4 separate regions of the Homo sapiens genome follow, and all the other regions are linked to region 4. Evidence: promoter capture Hi-C in human tissues and cell types (Jung and others, 2019). All regions are on one chromosome and are shown on one strand. Each heading gives the region's core, a stretch centred on a gene start or on the middle of the fragment in contact. The rest is flanking DNA. Distances are from core to core; before and after follow the strand shown.

Region 1 (2,900 bases), core at 103-2,602, 460 kb before region 4:
GCTGTGTACAAATTACATGTATTCTTTTTTGAAAACTCTCTCTTGGGAAAGCACAAATTTCTTAAGAGCAGGATATTATTATGTGATTTTTTAATATCTCCAATTAGTCACAGTGTAATTTGCATCCTGTGGTTGCTTAATAAATGCTAGGTGAATGACAAATTCGTCATTCGATGCTGAGCATCACCCTCCTCAAAAAAAAAACCCCACCGTTTATGTGTTTTAAGCCACTAAATTTGTGGTAATTTGTTATATAGTGATAGAAAACTAATATACATAGAGTTGGGCAGGTTTGGTCACCAGCTAGGTTTTTAATTGCTCTACTTATAAACAGGTGTCTCTCATTGCTATTGTTTTACCTTCCAAACCATGGTGTCTCCAATATTTTGAAAGCTATAAATGGGAAATAAAACCCAAGGGTTGAGGGCAGAGGAGAGATACATGACCCAATTTGAGGGGATCTACCATGTGGAGGCATTTACTACAGAGTGGAGTAGAATCACCCTTCAAGAGTACAGTAGCAATCTTTTCTCAGTCCCAGGGAAGTGACTTTAATCAAATGACAGATCTTCTGACCTGTGTTAACTAAGGCTGAGAAATGGAATTTAGATGGTAGAATTATTATTTTTCACACCTATGCTCTCCCTCTTCTGGGGACTTGTTTACTCAAAGGGATTTCCAGTTCCCTTTCTCATCGGAACTCCATAGGCTTCTGCTACGCAGATGATCATGAGAACAGGCGTGAGGAGCCCCTTCTCAGGAGGACATTCTGGCTCTCGGTAATGCTCACACACAGCTGGCCTCAAGCAAGTTAACAATAGCTACTGTACAACCATGAAGAGCCAGCTGTTATGGAGAATACAAAAGAAGTAAAGTAATAACACTGCCTTACCTAAATCCAATTTATCCCCAAATTTATAAAGGCAACTTATCTTAAACTGAAAACATAATTACTGCTAGTTTGATTAAAAAGTTAATGCACTCACGCCTGTAATCCCAGCACTTTGGGAGGCTGAGGTGGGTGGATCACGAGGTCAGGAGATCGAGACTATCCTGGCTAACACGTAGAAACCCCATCTCTACTAAAAATACAAAAAATTAGCCGGGTGTGATAGCTGGTGCCTGTAGTCCCAGCTACTCGGGAGGCTGAGGCAGGAGAATCACTTGAACCCGGGAGGCAGAGCTTGCAGTGAGCCGAGATTGTGCCACTACACTCCAGCCTGGGCGACACAGCAAGACTCCGTCTCAAAAAAAAAAAAAAAAAGTTAATGCAGTCCAGAGTCCCCCAAGTCAAATTAATGTATGCAAAGATAACACCAAATATCATTAAAACAGTGTTCATTATTTACTATCATATATTATCACAATATAACCTAAACAAGTATTTTCTATTTATTATTTAGTCTATCGAATGGCTGTTTACCTGCTCGTCGTAGGCCACTTAAGAAGAGTACACTTAAGAGTATACTATAGGCTGGGCGTGGTGGCTTACGCCTATAATCCTAGCACTTTGGGAGGCTGAGGCAGGTGGATTGCCTGAGCTCAGGAGTTTGAGACCAGCCTGGGCAACATGGCGAAATCCTGTCACCACCAAAAAAGAAAGTCACAAAGTCACAAAGCATGTTTATGGATTACATTATACAAAGTTTATATAATTTAACCATTAAAAAAATAAAGTCAAAAGAAATCAATGGCAGAATCCAAATGACATGACACTTATCAAACAGGTTGACATCATAATGAGCATCATCCTTGCTATAAATTAGCAAACCTCGAGTCACCTGTTAAGAAGGGCACTCAGCCAGATGTTGGTGCTAGCTACCCCACTGCCAAGATAACCACCTGGAGTCTACACTGCCGCTTACAAGATGCACCAGTGCAGAGTTTATATATATATTCAATTTATCAATTGTGTGTATATATATTCATTATATATATAATGAATATATATACTATATAGATAGATATAATGTATATATATACTATATAGATCGATAATGTACACAGACACAAGGGTATAAAATCCAGTGAGAAGGGCTCACACATGCCAGGTAGGGGAAGGGAGCAGTGGCTTTAACTGCCAGGGTTGAGGCCACAGTGGAGGCACACAGGAAATGGTAGAGAGTAGCAGCCTCCCTCCATCGGATCATCTGAGGACAGGAGTTTGAGCCCAGCCTGGCCAACATGGTGAAATCCCACCTCTACTAAAACCGCACACGAAAAATTAGCCAGGCATGGTGGGCGCCAGTAATCCCAGCTACTCGGGAGGCTGAGGCAGAAGAATAACGTGAACTCAGGAGGTGGAGGTTGCAGTGAGCCGAGATCATGCCACTGCACTCCAGCCTGGGCAACAGGGCAAGACTCCGTCTCAAAAATAAAATAAAATAAAATAAAATAAATAAATAAAGGTTGCACCAGTCCACAATGGCTTTCATAAATGCCAAGACAGACCCCTTAGAGCTGAATTAGGGCATCAAGTGAAAGTTTTAGTAACGCCAAATGGTTGTAAACCAAAGAGACATAATTTCATAGTATGTACTTCACAGTTTCGAAAGCATTTCTCCATCTCCAAAGCTTCCCCATATACCAAATTTATTTCCAGCCTCTGTGAATCTGAAAACTGGCTTTCACCCCCTCACAGTCTCCTATCCTCCTCGTATTTTACAACTGTCAAGCCCCAGAAAGTTAGAGACCTTAGCCATCATGTTTAACATGTGAGAAGCCAAGGATTAGAGTGGCAAACAGCCTGTCTTCTGGCCATCTCTTTGCATCTCCTCTAGGAAAGCTTTTCTAACTCCCCCAGAACACACAGATCAGTGGATTAGTCAATCAGCAAGTATTCATTGAGCATGTCTGATGTCCTGGCACTGATCGAGAGAAACTGCAAGAGATTTAAAACA
Region 2 (2,700 bases), core at 148-2,647, 260 kb after region 4:
ACCTCATTTCCTAAGCCTATCCTAACTTGTCTTTCTATATCAAAACAAATGTATTGGTCCAGGGTTCTGTTGTTTTGGGGTCCCAGTGTGGCAAATTAATATGATAAATTATGTTTAAGGCTCTAAATAAAGTGCTACATGAAAGCAGATTCAGGTCTTATTCATTTCTTTTTCTTCTTTCCTTCTTTCTTTTTTTTTCTTTTTCTTTTTTTTTTTTTTGAGACGGAGTCTCGCTCTGTTGCCCAGGCTGGAGTGCAGTGGCACAATCTCGGCTCACCACAACCTCTGCTTCCCAGGTTCAAGTGATTCTCCTGCCTCAGCCTCCCGAGTAGCTGGGATTACAGGCACGTGCCACCACGTCCAGCTAATTTTTGTATTTTTTTTAGTAAAGACAGGGTTTCACCATGTTGGCCAGGATGGTCTCGATCTCTTGACCTCGTGATCCGCCCGCCTGGGCCTCCCAAAGTGCTGAGATTACAGGCTTGAGCCACTGCGCCCGGCCGGTCTTATTCATTTCTATGCTCCTGTCCCTAGTTTCTGGGTCACATTTGGAGAGGTGAGATGGAACTCAATTTGAAGTTACACGTGAAAAGGTGGCAGTGTTTTAGAACATCCTGACATTTCAATAGCTCCCTTTATTCATTCAACAAACATCTGAGTGCATACTATGTGCAGGGCATACTCTATAGGCCATCGGCTTTCGAACTTTTGTGAACTTCAGCATCACCTAGAGGCCTTGTTAAAACACAAAGTTCTGAATCATAGATTCTGATTCAGGAGGTCTGGATGAGCCCTGAGAATTCAATTTCTAACAAGTTCCCCGGTGCAGCTGATGCTCCTGGTCTGGGAACCACACTTGGAGAAAAACTGATACAGGGCAAGGCAGGAGCCAAGCCCCTGACCTCCTAAGACGCGGTCTAGGGTGGTTATTATGTCAAGGAGACTAACGATGGAAATTTTCTGATCTTGGCAGGCCAGTGGGGGAGACACGCAGGAGGCCTGGAAGCCCCTGGAGCTGTGGTCTCTGGCTGCCACCCCCGGAGTCAAGCACAAACAGAAGTCAGCTGTGCTGCGCCCATCCCTGCGGCGCCGTGAAAGAAGGCGCAGGAGGAGGGAGCCCTGACACCTCCTCTCGGGCTGGGGCCCCACAGCGGCGAAAAGACGGAGGGAGTGATCGGGGGTCGCGGGGATCCTTCCGGGACGGGCCTCCGTCGGAGGAGCTCCGGAAAGCCGCCCTCCACCTCCGAGGCCCCGCCTGCGCGGGCGCTCCACTAGCGGTCGGGGTGGTGGCGGCGGCGGCGGCGGCGGCGGCGGCGCGGGGCGGGGCGCCGCGACCCCTGTCCCTCCCCTGGGCCGAGCGGCAGGCGCGCTCGCACCGCCCCCGCCCCCTCGTCGCAGTCGCTGCCGACCGGCTGGCTGGGCCTTGCGGCGTGAGGACCCCGGCGGCGCCGCAGTCCCGCGAGCCATGGCCCAGTCCGGCGGGGAGGCTCGGCCCGGGCCCAAGACGGCGGTGCAGATCCGCGTCGCCATCCAGGAGGCCGAGGACGTGGACGAGTTGGAGGACGAGGAGGAGGGGGCGGAGACTCGGGGCGCCGGGGACCCGGCCCGGTACCTCAGCCCCGGCTGGGGCAGCGCGAGCGAGGAGGAGCCGAGCCGCGGGCACAGGTAGGCGCGGCGGCTGGCCCGGGAGGTGGGCCCCGAGGGGGCGCCGGGCCGCGCGCGAGTTCGGGGCGCTGACTGCGCGCGACAACTCCTCGGGCAGAGGGGGTTGAGTCAGCCCCGCCGCCGGGGAAGCAGCTCCGGGCCGAGCCCCTGAGTCAGAACCGGCCCGTGGAGGCAGCCGGTGCCCCAGCCCGCAGCTTCGTCGCCCAACCGAGGCTCCCAGGGCTGGCGGCCGGGATCTGAGGGGCCTGGACGTGGGGATGTTCAGGGATCCAGGAGGAGGACTTTCACGGGCCATCCAAGCCACCCCCTCCTCTGGAGGAGGCCTCTTCTCTGTGGGCTCCCTCAAGACACCACCTCCCCATCGCCGCAAAGTCCATCCCTACCCGCCTTCCCCTCCCCTTGCGAGTGGTCCCGCTTACCCTTCACTGCCATCATCGCCCTGCCTTTCCCAGTCCTGCTGGCTGCGCTCAGTCTTTAGGTGGTAGCAGGCCAGGTACAGCGGACACTTGCTGATGGGGGATTCCAGGAGGTGGGATTTCAAGGTAATTTGAGACGGATAGAGGACTTGCTGCTTTACTTCCTCCGCCCTGGGGGATTCCCATTTTCACACAGCCTTTCCCACCAGACCTTTATGTTTGCATCATCTTGCTGCCTTGCGGGGGGCGGGGGGGGGGTGTTCCTGGGTTTTGGGTAGTTTGGAGCTGCTATGGCACTTGTTTAACCTTGTCCCGGGTCCCGAGCTTTGTCCTCAGGCACCTTGGCTCCTGTCCACTAATGCCCAGGCCCTTAAGGACTGGTGTTTTGTTCCTGCTGTTGAAAGGAGATAAAACATAGACATAGACATGAGAGTGGGGAAATGACAGAACTTGCACATTCTGGTGGATGCCAACAGGCACTTATTAGGAGCTCTCTTTCTTCTAGGACCCTGTCCCAGGCGTTTAGCTGTTAAGGTTCTGCAGGATTGTCCTGGCAAGCGTATATCTACTTCACTGGGAGAATACTCAACTCAAGGGTGGAAGAATACTGGGCCCAGAG
Region 3 (2,819 bases), core at 270-2,769, 410 kb before region 4:
AGAGAAGAGTTTGTGTGTTTCAATAAATGGCTGTCTTAGTCAGTTTTCTGTTACATCAAAATACTTGAGAACGAGTAATCTATAAATAATAGAAATTTATTTCTCCCAGTTCTGGAGGCTGGAAGTTCAAGATCAAGGCTCCAGCAGCTTTGGTGTCTGGTGAGGGCCCCGTCTCTACTTTCAAGGTGGCGCCTTGTTGCTGTGTCCTTACATGGTGAAAGGCAGAAGGGCAAAAAAGGCTGAACCCCGGGTGAAGGCTATTTTATAAGGCATTAATCCCATTTATGAGGGAGGAGTCTTCATGACCTAATCACCTCCTAAAGGACCCACGTCTTAATACGACTGCAATGGTGATTAAGTTTCAACATGAATTTTGGGGAAGATTCAGACCAAGGCAATGGTCATTTTTCATACATACTAACTTGACATGACACTGTGCCTCTTAGCTATGGCACCATAAATTGTGCCTCATTCTGTGCCACACTCCATAACTTGCTCAGTTCAGCATACTGTCCAACAGACACTATAAGAGAATCTATTCTAGGTTGAATCAAATACAAATTTTAGATACACATCAAAATTTGGCAGAATACCTGTGTGCCATTGCTACACAATAAGCTACCACACTAGCCCTAGGGATTCACATCACCTAATTGGAAAAGTGTCAAATCAAAGTCTCGACATTTGCACAAGTGAGAGATTAAGCTTCATTTCACATATGCAGTTCATCCCACCCATAAACATGCCAAGAGAGAGTCAACATCGTGTTTCTAATGCAGCGACTATTCCTGGAATATTCCAGTGCAACTATTCCTGAAATAGTTTCTTTCAGGAATAAAAAACCAAACACAACTTAAAAAAAGAATCACTAAACGAAACCTAAAGACAGCACAATAAAACTGCCAAAACGACTGCATTTCTGTCTACTTGGTAGACCTCTAAGCGACTCTCTCCTAACAAGAAAGAAGTAACTGGAAAATATTCTGCCTGTGCCAGTGATGTGTGATTTAAGAGAGGAAATATTTAGAGGCTTAAGAGACCTTTGCAGGGAGTCTGGAAGCCGGCTGCAAGTTTGAAGAAATTTGCATTCTCTGGAATCCAGGCTCATTTCTCTCTGGGAACCACCAGGAAGTAAAGTCCATAAACTGAGATTTTAGACGGTCCTTGAAACCGGCAATCAATCAGAACAAAATGAAACTCGGTTCAAGTAGGCAGTAATTTATTGTGGCATTGTCCCCAGCCTACAGGGGGAAAATTCAGCCATTTACAATGAAATAGTGATGGGTCAGTGAAAACACTCTAAATTTGATAATATATCCAGGAGCAGATGTAACCGAATAGGGTCGGTTCTTATTTCCTTGGTTCTACTAATTCACTTACTGTTTACTGAGTGTCTGCGTGTGTCGGGTGTTAGAAGCTCCTGGATGAATGAGACCCATTCCCTGTCCTTGAGGGGTTCAGGTTCTACAGGGAATGGGAAAGGTGGTGAGTCTGTAGCTGGGGATGCTAAGGCAAAGCTCTCACCAGCTCTCACCAAGGACCATGATTTTCTATTGCACTTGTGAGACCATTGAGATGAGATGAGATGCAAAGAATGTATCTCCAAAAATCCCAACAGATTCTGACTTTTCAGCATGATTTAGGACACAGACTTCTTCATCTGCGTCCTGTTTCCTCACAGTTGGAATGTTCTGTCCATGGACCATAACAAAAGTCAGTTATTTCTAACTCATTACTTGGGAAAACATCTCCCTAATACATAAAACATTTGCGCAGATTTCTCTGTACATTGTACATCTGTATAACTGACTCTCAACTCATAGTTTGAATAAACGCATCTGTGGGCACCTTTCAACCACCCCCACTCCCTGGCTCTGTGCCCATGCCTGACCTTGTCCAGTTCTGTATCTTCCTCTGCCTCCTGCATATTTCCACTTGCAAGTCTTACCAATGTTTCAAATCCAACATGTCTATAATTAAATCTGCAGTTCAGTGGTTATGAGTGTCGGTTTTAACATTAGGATGCTTAAAGTTAAATCCTGGTTGTAGCACATATTAGCTGTGTGTTCCTGGGCTAGTAATTTAATCTCTATGTGCCTCATGTTCCTCATCTGTACAATTAGATGATTGATGGTACCTATCCCTTGAGGCTGCCATGAGAATTAAATGAGACATTACATGTAGAACACTTAGCAGGGAGCCTGATGCATAATAAGTGCTCAGTAAATATTAGCTATTTTTATTATTCATTGTGAAATTGATGGCTACATTTCTCTCATTGATACCACCATTTTCCTTCTAGGTGAGAGCTCAAGATTGAAGAGTCCAGGAAGACTGCATCCAAGATGCATAACTGCTGATCTTGGTTGGCCCCTTTTGAGGCATGGACAAGGGAGGGAGGGAGCATGGGCAAGGAAGTTCTTTGAAGTATAAAGCAAGAGGCCGGGCATGGTGGCTCACGCTTGTAATCCCAGCACTTTGGGAGGCCGAGGCAGGCGGATCACAAGGTCAGGAGATCGAGATCATCCTGGCTAATACGGTGAAACCCCGTCTCTACTAAAAAATACAAAAAAAAAAAAAAAAAAAAATTAGCCGGGCGTGGTGGTGGGCACCTGTAGTCCCAGCTACCTGGGAGGCTGAGGTAGGAGAATGGCATGAACCCAGGAGGCGGAGTTTGCAGTGAGCTGAGACTGCACCACTGCACTCCAGCCTGGGTGACAGATAGAGACTCGTCTCAAAAAAAAAAAAAAAAAAAAAAAAAAAAGAGGCATAAACCAAGAAGGGCTCTTAGCTCATCTCCATCTTCCTCCTGTGCTCAT
Region 4 (2,758 bases), core at 158-2,657:
ATTTTAAGTCACATTTTTAAAATGTTTGCTTCTTTGTATATTGAGACCCAGTAAGACCCTAGTAAGCCCAGTTACTCCATCACCTCCAACAATATTAATCAAGTAGAAGACACGCGGATTTTAAAAGCTGTGTGATCCTTGAAAAATCTTCAGACTGTCAGGGGTCCTGGGTGCCTCCAACTGTGAAAGGAGGGTTGGACAAGGCGATTCCTTAGATCTCTCTCGGGTATCTATTTCTCTAATTCCAAATTCCAACAGGCATCCAATGATTGCTACCCACGTCCAAGCTTTAGACTCATAGCCCGAAAAGGGCGAAGCGCAGCGTGGTAGAGATCGCAAAGGAGACAGGAAGAGAAGCAAGCATGCACTTTTAGTAAGACGGCAAAGGAGGCTGGGAGGTACGGTGCTGGGTGCGGACTGCTTAAAAAACTTACTAGACCACAAATTCCAGATACTTAGGTGGGCCCGAGAACGCCCTAAAATCCCCTTCCCAAGTGAGGGCTGATGTTATTTCAAATAAAAAGAAAACTTAACTTCCAGATCTGTAGAGCTCCAAGGTGAGCTCGCTGTGCAAAAGCTACTTCTGTAAGTGCGCCAAGGGGCCGCAGGTACTTAGGCTGCACTTGAGGAAGTGTCCAGAGTTGGCGGAAACAACCCATCCACTCGGGCTCCAGGCGCTCGCTGGGTTGCAGCAACTAAACTGAGACAGACAGACACACAGATCCGAGGCCCCAGGCCAGGACTCAAGGAGCGCTGACCGAGACTTGCCCGGCTCTCGGGCCCCAGGCGGGAGGGAGGCGAGGCTGAGGTGGGGGGCGCACGGGCTGGGTGTGCACTCGCCGGTCCCCTCCGACCCGACCCGGGGAGCACGGGGCCCCGACCCGGGGACGACTGAGGTGGATTGTCCCTAGAGTTTAAGACTGTCCCTAGAGTCGAGGGTGGAGGGATGAGCGCCGGCGCCAGCACAGAGCAAGACTCCCAGCAAGGAAGAGAACCAGAGAAGGAGGCGCAGCCGTCCGCACGGACCAGGCGCGCGCTGGCTCCCCGAGCCCGGAGCGGCGCAGCCCGCGGCGCCCCGGACACACCCACTGGGTAGCCCGCGCCAGCCCGCCCCGCCGGCCAGAGAGCGGGAGCCGGAGCCTGGGCAGCGGAAGCCGGGTCGGGGCCGCGCGGGCGGCGCGCAGGGGACGCGGGGCGCGCGGCTCTGCTCACCTGGCGGTCCGCGTCCCGGAGCGACCGGCGGCCGCCTCGCCTCGCCTCGCCCCCGCGTGGTTCCCGGCGCCGGGCAGCCCCGAGCGCCGCCGCATGGACGGCCGCCACCGCCGCCCAGCCGCCCCGCGCCCGCCCTGCACGGGCTCCCGCTGTGCCCCGATTCCGCGTCGGGCTGCGCGGGCGGCCAGCGGTTCAGGCGCGCGCGGAGAGCTCTGGCTCAGAGTTTGCGATCCGAGAGCGGGATCCGCGCTCCCTCGGTCCTTCCTCCCTCCCCTCTTGCGGCCTCCCGCTGTCATCTGGAGCCGCTCCTGCCGCCCCCTGGCGGCGACCGCGGGAAGGGCCGGCCCCCATCCGCACCCCTGACCCCGGAGGTCAACAACGGGATGGTCCCTGGGTCCCAGGGGAAGAGACATCACCCAGTAGGAGGGAGTACGGTCTAGACAGAGGCCACGAGGGCGGGAGGGGGCGAGAGTGGAGAGTGGCCCAGCTGGCCAGGGTCGTCTAAGTGAGAGGAAAAGGGAGAGGGCGGTTGAGACCAGGCCCTGAATTCCGCGTTCATCTTATCCTGAGGTCTGTGGGGACCTGTTGAAGGACTGGGGCAGGGGACGGACGCGGGCATCCTTCCATTTGGAACAGCCATTCCGGCAGCATCAGGATGGGGCGGAGGCAAAGCGGGGAGTGGGCGAGGCAAGTGGTGCTGTAAACCTGTGCGAGAAGGGGGCGGTGACTCTAAGGGCAGGAAGGAGCCCTGGTCACACACACACTCCCACGCAAGGTAGGACGCGCTGGGCTCCTTCTGAGGCCAAGGGGAAAGGACAAGAGCCCTCCAAATTCCAACGGGGGTTAGACAGCATGGGGAGGAGACACACACACCCTGACGGCCAGAGCCGTTCGGGATTCTTTCTTGTCTTATTCAGAGTAATATTTTGTTGGGGAAAAAAAAGCCTGCTGCAAAAAAATAATAATTCTTCTCATTAGTAATGATAAAAATCAAACTTTGATCCCTTCATTTTACGAATTGGGAAATTATTGCCCCCAAAAGGGCATGACCAAAGTGACGCGTTTAGTTAATGGAGGGAAAATTGCTAGGGCCCCGTTTCTTGAGTCCTAATTCAGAGCCAAATTCTTTACATTCGAGCCAAGGTGTTCAGAGCTGGGAAGGCAGGAAATAGAGTGACTGTGAGGAACTGTCTCTTCTTTCCCCAGAGCAGGGAGGGGGTGACAAATATTTGAAGAGGCTGTCCAGATACAGGCGTTTCCCTAAATTTCAGTCAGCCTGTTTGTTTATCGCTGCCTCTAAAGCTTGCCTGCAGGGGTTGTTTTGAAAGTGCAGGTATACCGAGAGGACAATGAAGGAGGTGGCAGAATGCAAGCTCCCTGCCCCAGAGCCAGGCAGCACCAGGGCTGGGTGCAGAGCGCTTCGTGGGAGCAGAAGGGAGCTCCCAGGGAAGATTGTCCTCCAGAAAAAAAAAAAAATTAACAAAAGGGAAAGAGGCTACTCAAGAGATTAGGCCAAAGAAAGAAACACCATTTTGAGCACCGACTA

The links. The method cuts DNA at HindIII sites, captures the fragments that hold promoters and counts their contacts. A contact is called where the count stands out against the background at its distance.
Region 1: a fragment that was not itself captured here is called in contact with the fragment with the promoter of CT62 in region 4 in 3 of the 25 tissues and cell types used here (IMR-90 fibroblasts, adrenal gland and heart left ventricle).
Region 2: the fragment with the promoter of LARP6 here is called in contact with the fragment with the promoter of CT62 in region 4 in 2 of the 25 tissues and cell types used here (heart right ventricle and liver).
Region 3: a contact is called between a fragment that was not itself captured here and the fragment with the promoter of CT62 in region 4, in 4 of the 25 tissues and cell types used here (H1 embryonic stem cells, aorta, lymphoblastoid cells and 1 more).

What each region holds. Positions count from the first base shown.
Region 1 is chr15:71,577,209-71,580,108 of GRCh38, reverse strand. The region is part of intron 7 of THSD4 (thrombospondin type 1 domain containing 4); the gene reads right to left. Among named protein-coding and RNA genes, the nearest start is that of THSD4-AS2, 110 kb to the left of the region's middle. The HindIII fragment of the contact is 5,390 bases long and covers 1-2,900 here.
Region 2 is chr15:70,852,854-70,855,553 of GRCh38, reverse strand. LARP6 (La ribonucleoprotein 6, translational regulator) reads left to right here and starts at 1,397. Exons shown (of 3, transcript NM_018357.4): 1 at 1,397-1,665. The coding sequence starts at 1,466. It also overlaps a transcript of LRRC49 not described here. RefSeq lists an enhancer at 1,507-2,008. The HindIII fragment of the contact is 12,354 bases long and covers 1-2,700 here.
Region 3 is chr15:71,524,533-71,527,351 of GRCh38, reverse strand. All of the region lies in intron 7 of THSD4 (thrombospondin type 1 domain containing 4), which reads right to left. It overlaps LOC107984716 (a long non-coding RNA gene), which reads left to right and starts at 2,754. Exons shown (of 3, transcript XR_001751787.2): 1 at 2,754-2,819. The HindIII fragment of the contact is 4,601 bases long and covers 1-2,819 here.
Region 4 is chr15:71,114,153-71,116,910 of GRCh38, reverse strand. It overlaps CT62 (cancer/testis associated 62), which reads left to right and starts at 1,407. Exons shown (of 4, transcript NR_168260.1): 1 at 1,407-1,987. THSD4 (thrombospondin type 1 domain containing 4) reads right to left here and starts at 1,440. Exons shown (of 18, transcript NM_024817.3): 1 at 1,213-1,440. RefSeq lists silencers at 1,047-1,136, 1,287-1,426, 1,457-1,516, 1,363-1,540, 1,577-1,626. The HindIII fragment of the contact is 8,632 bases long and covers 1-2,758 here.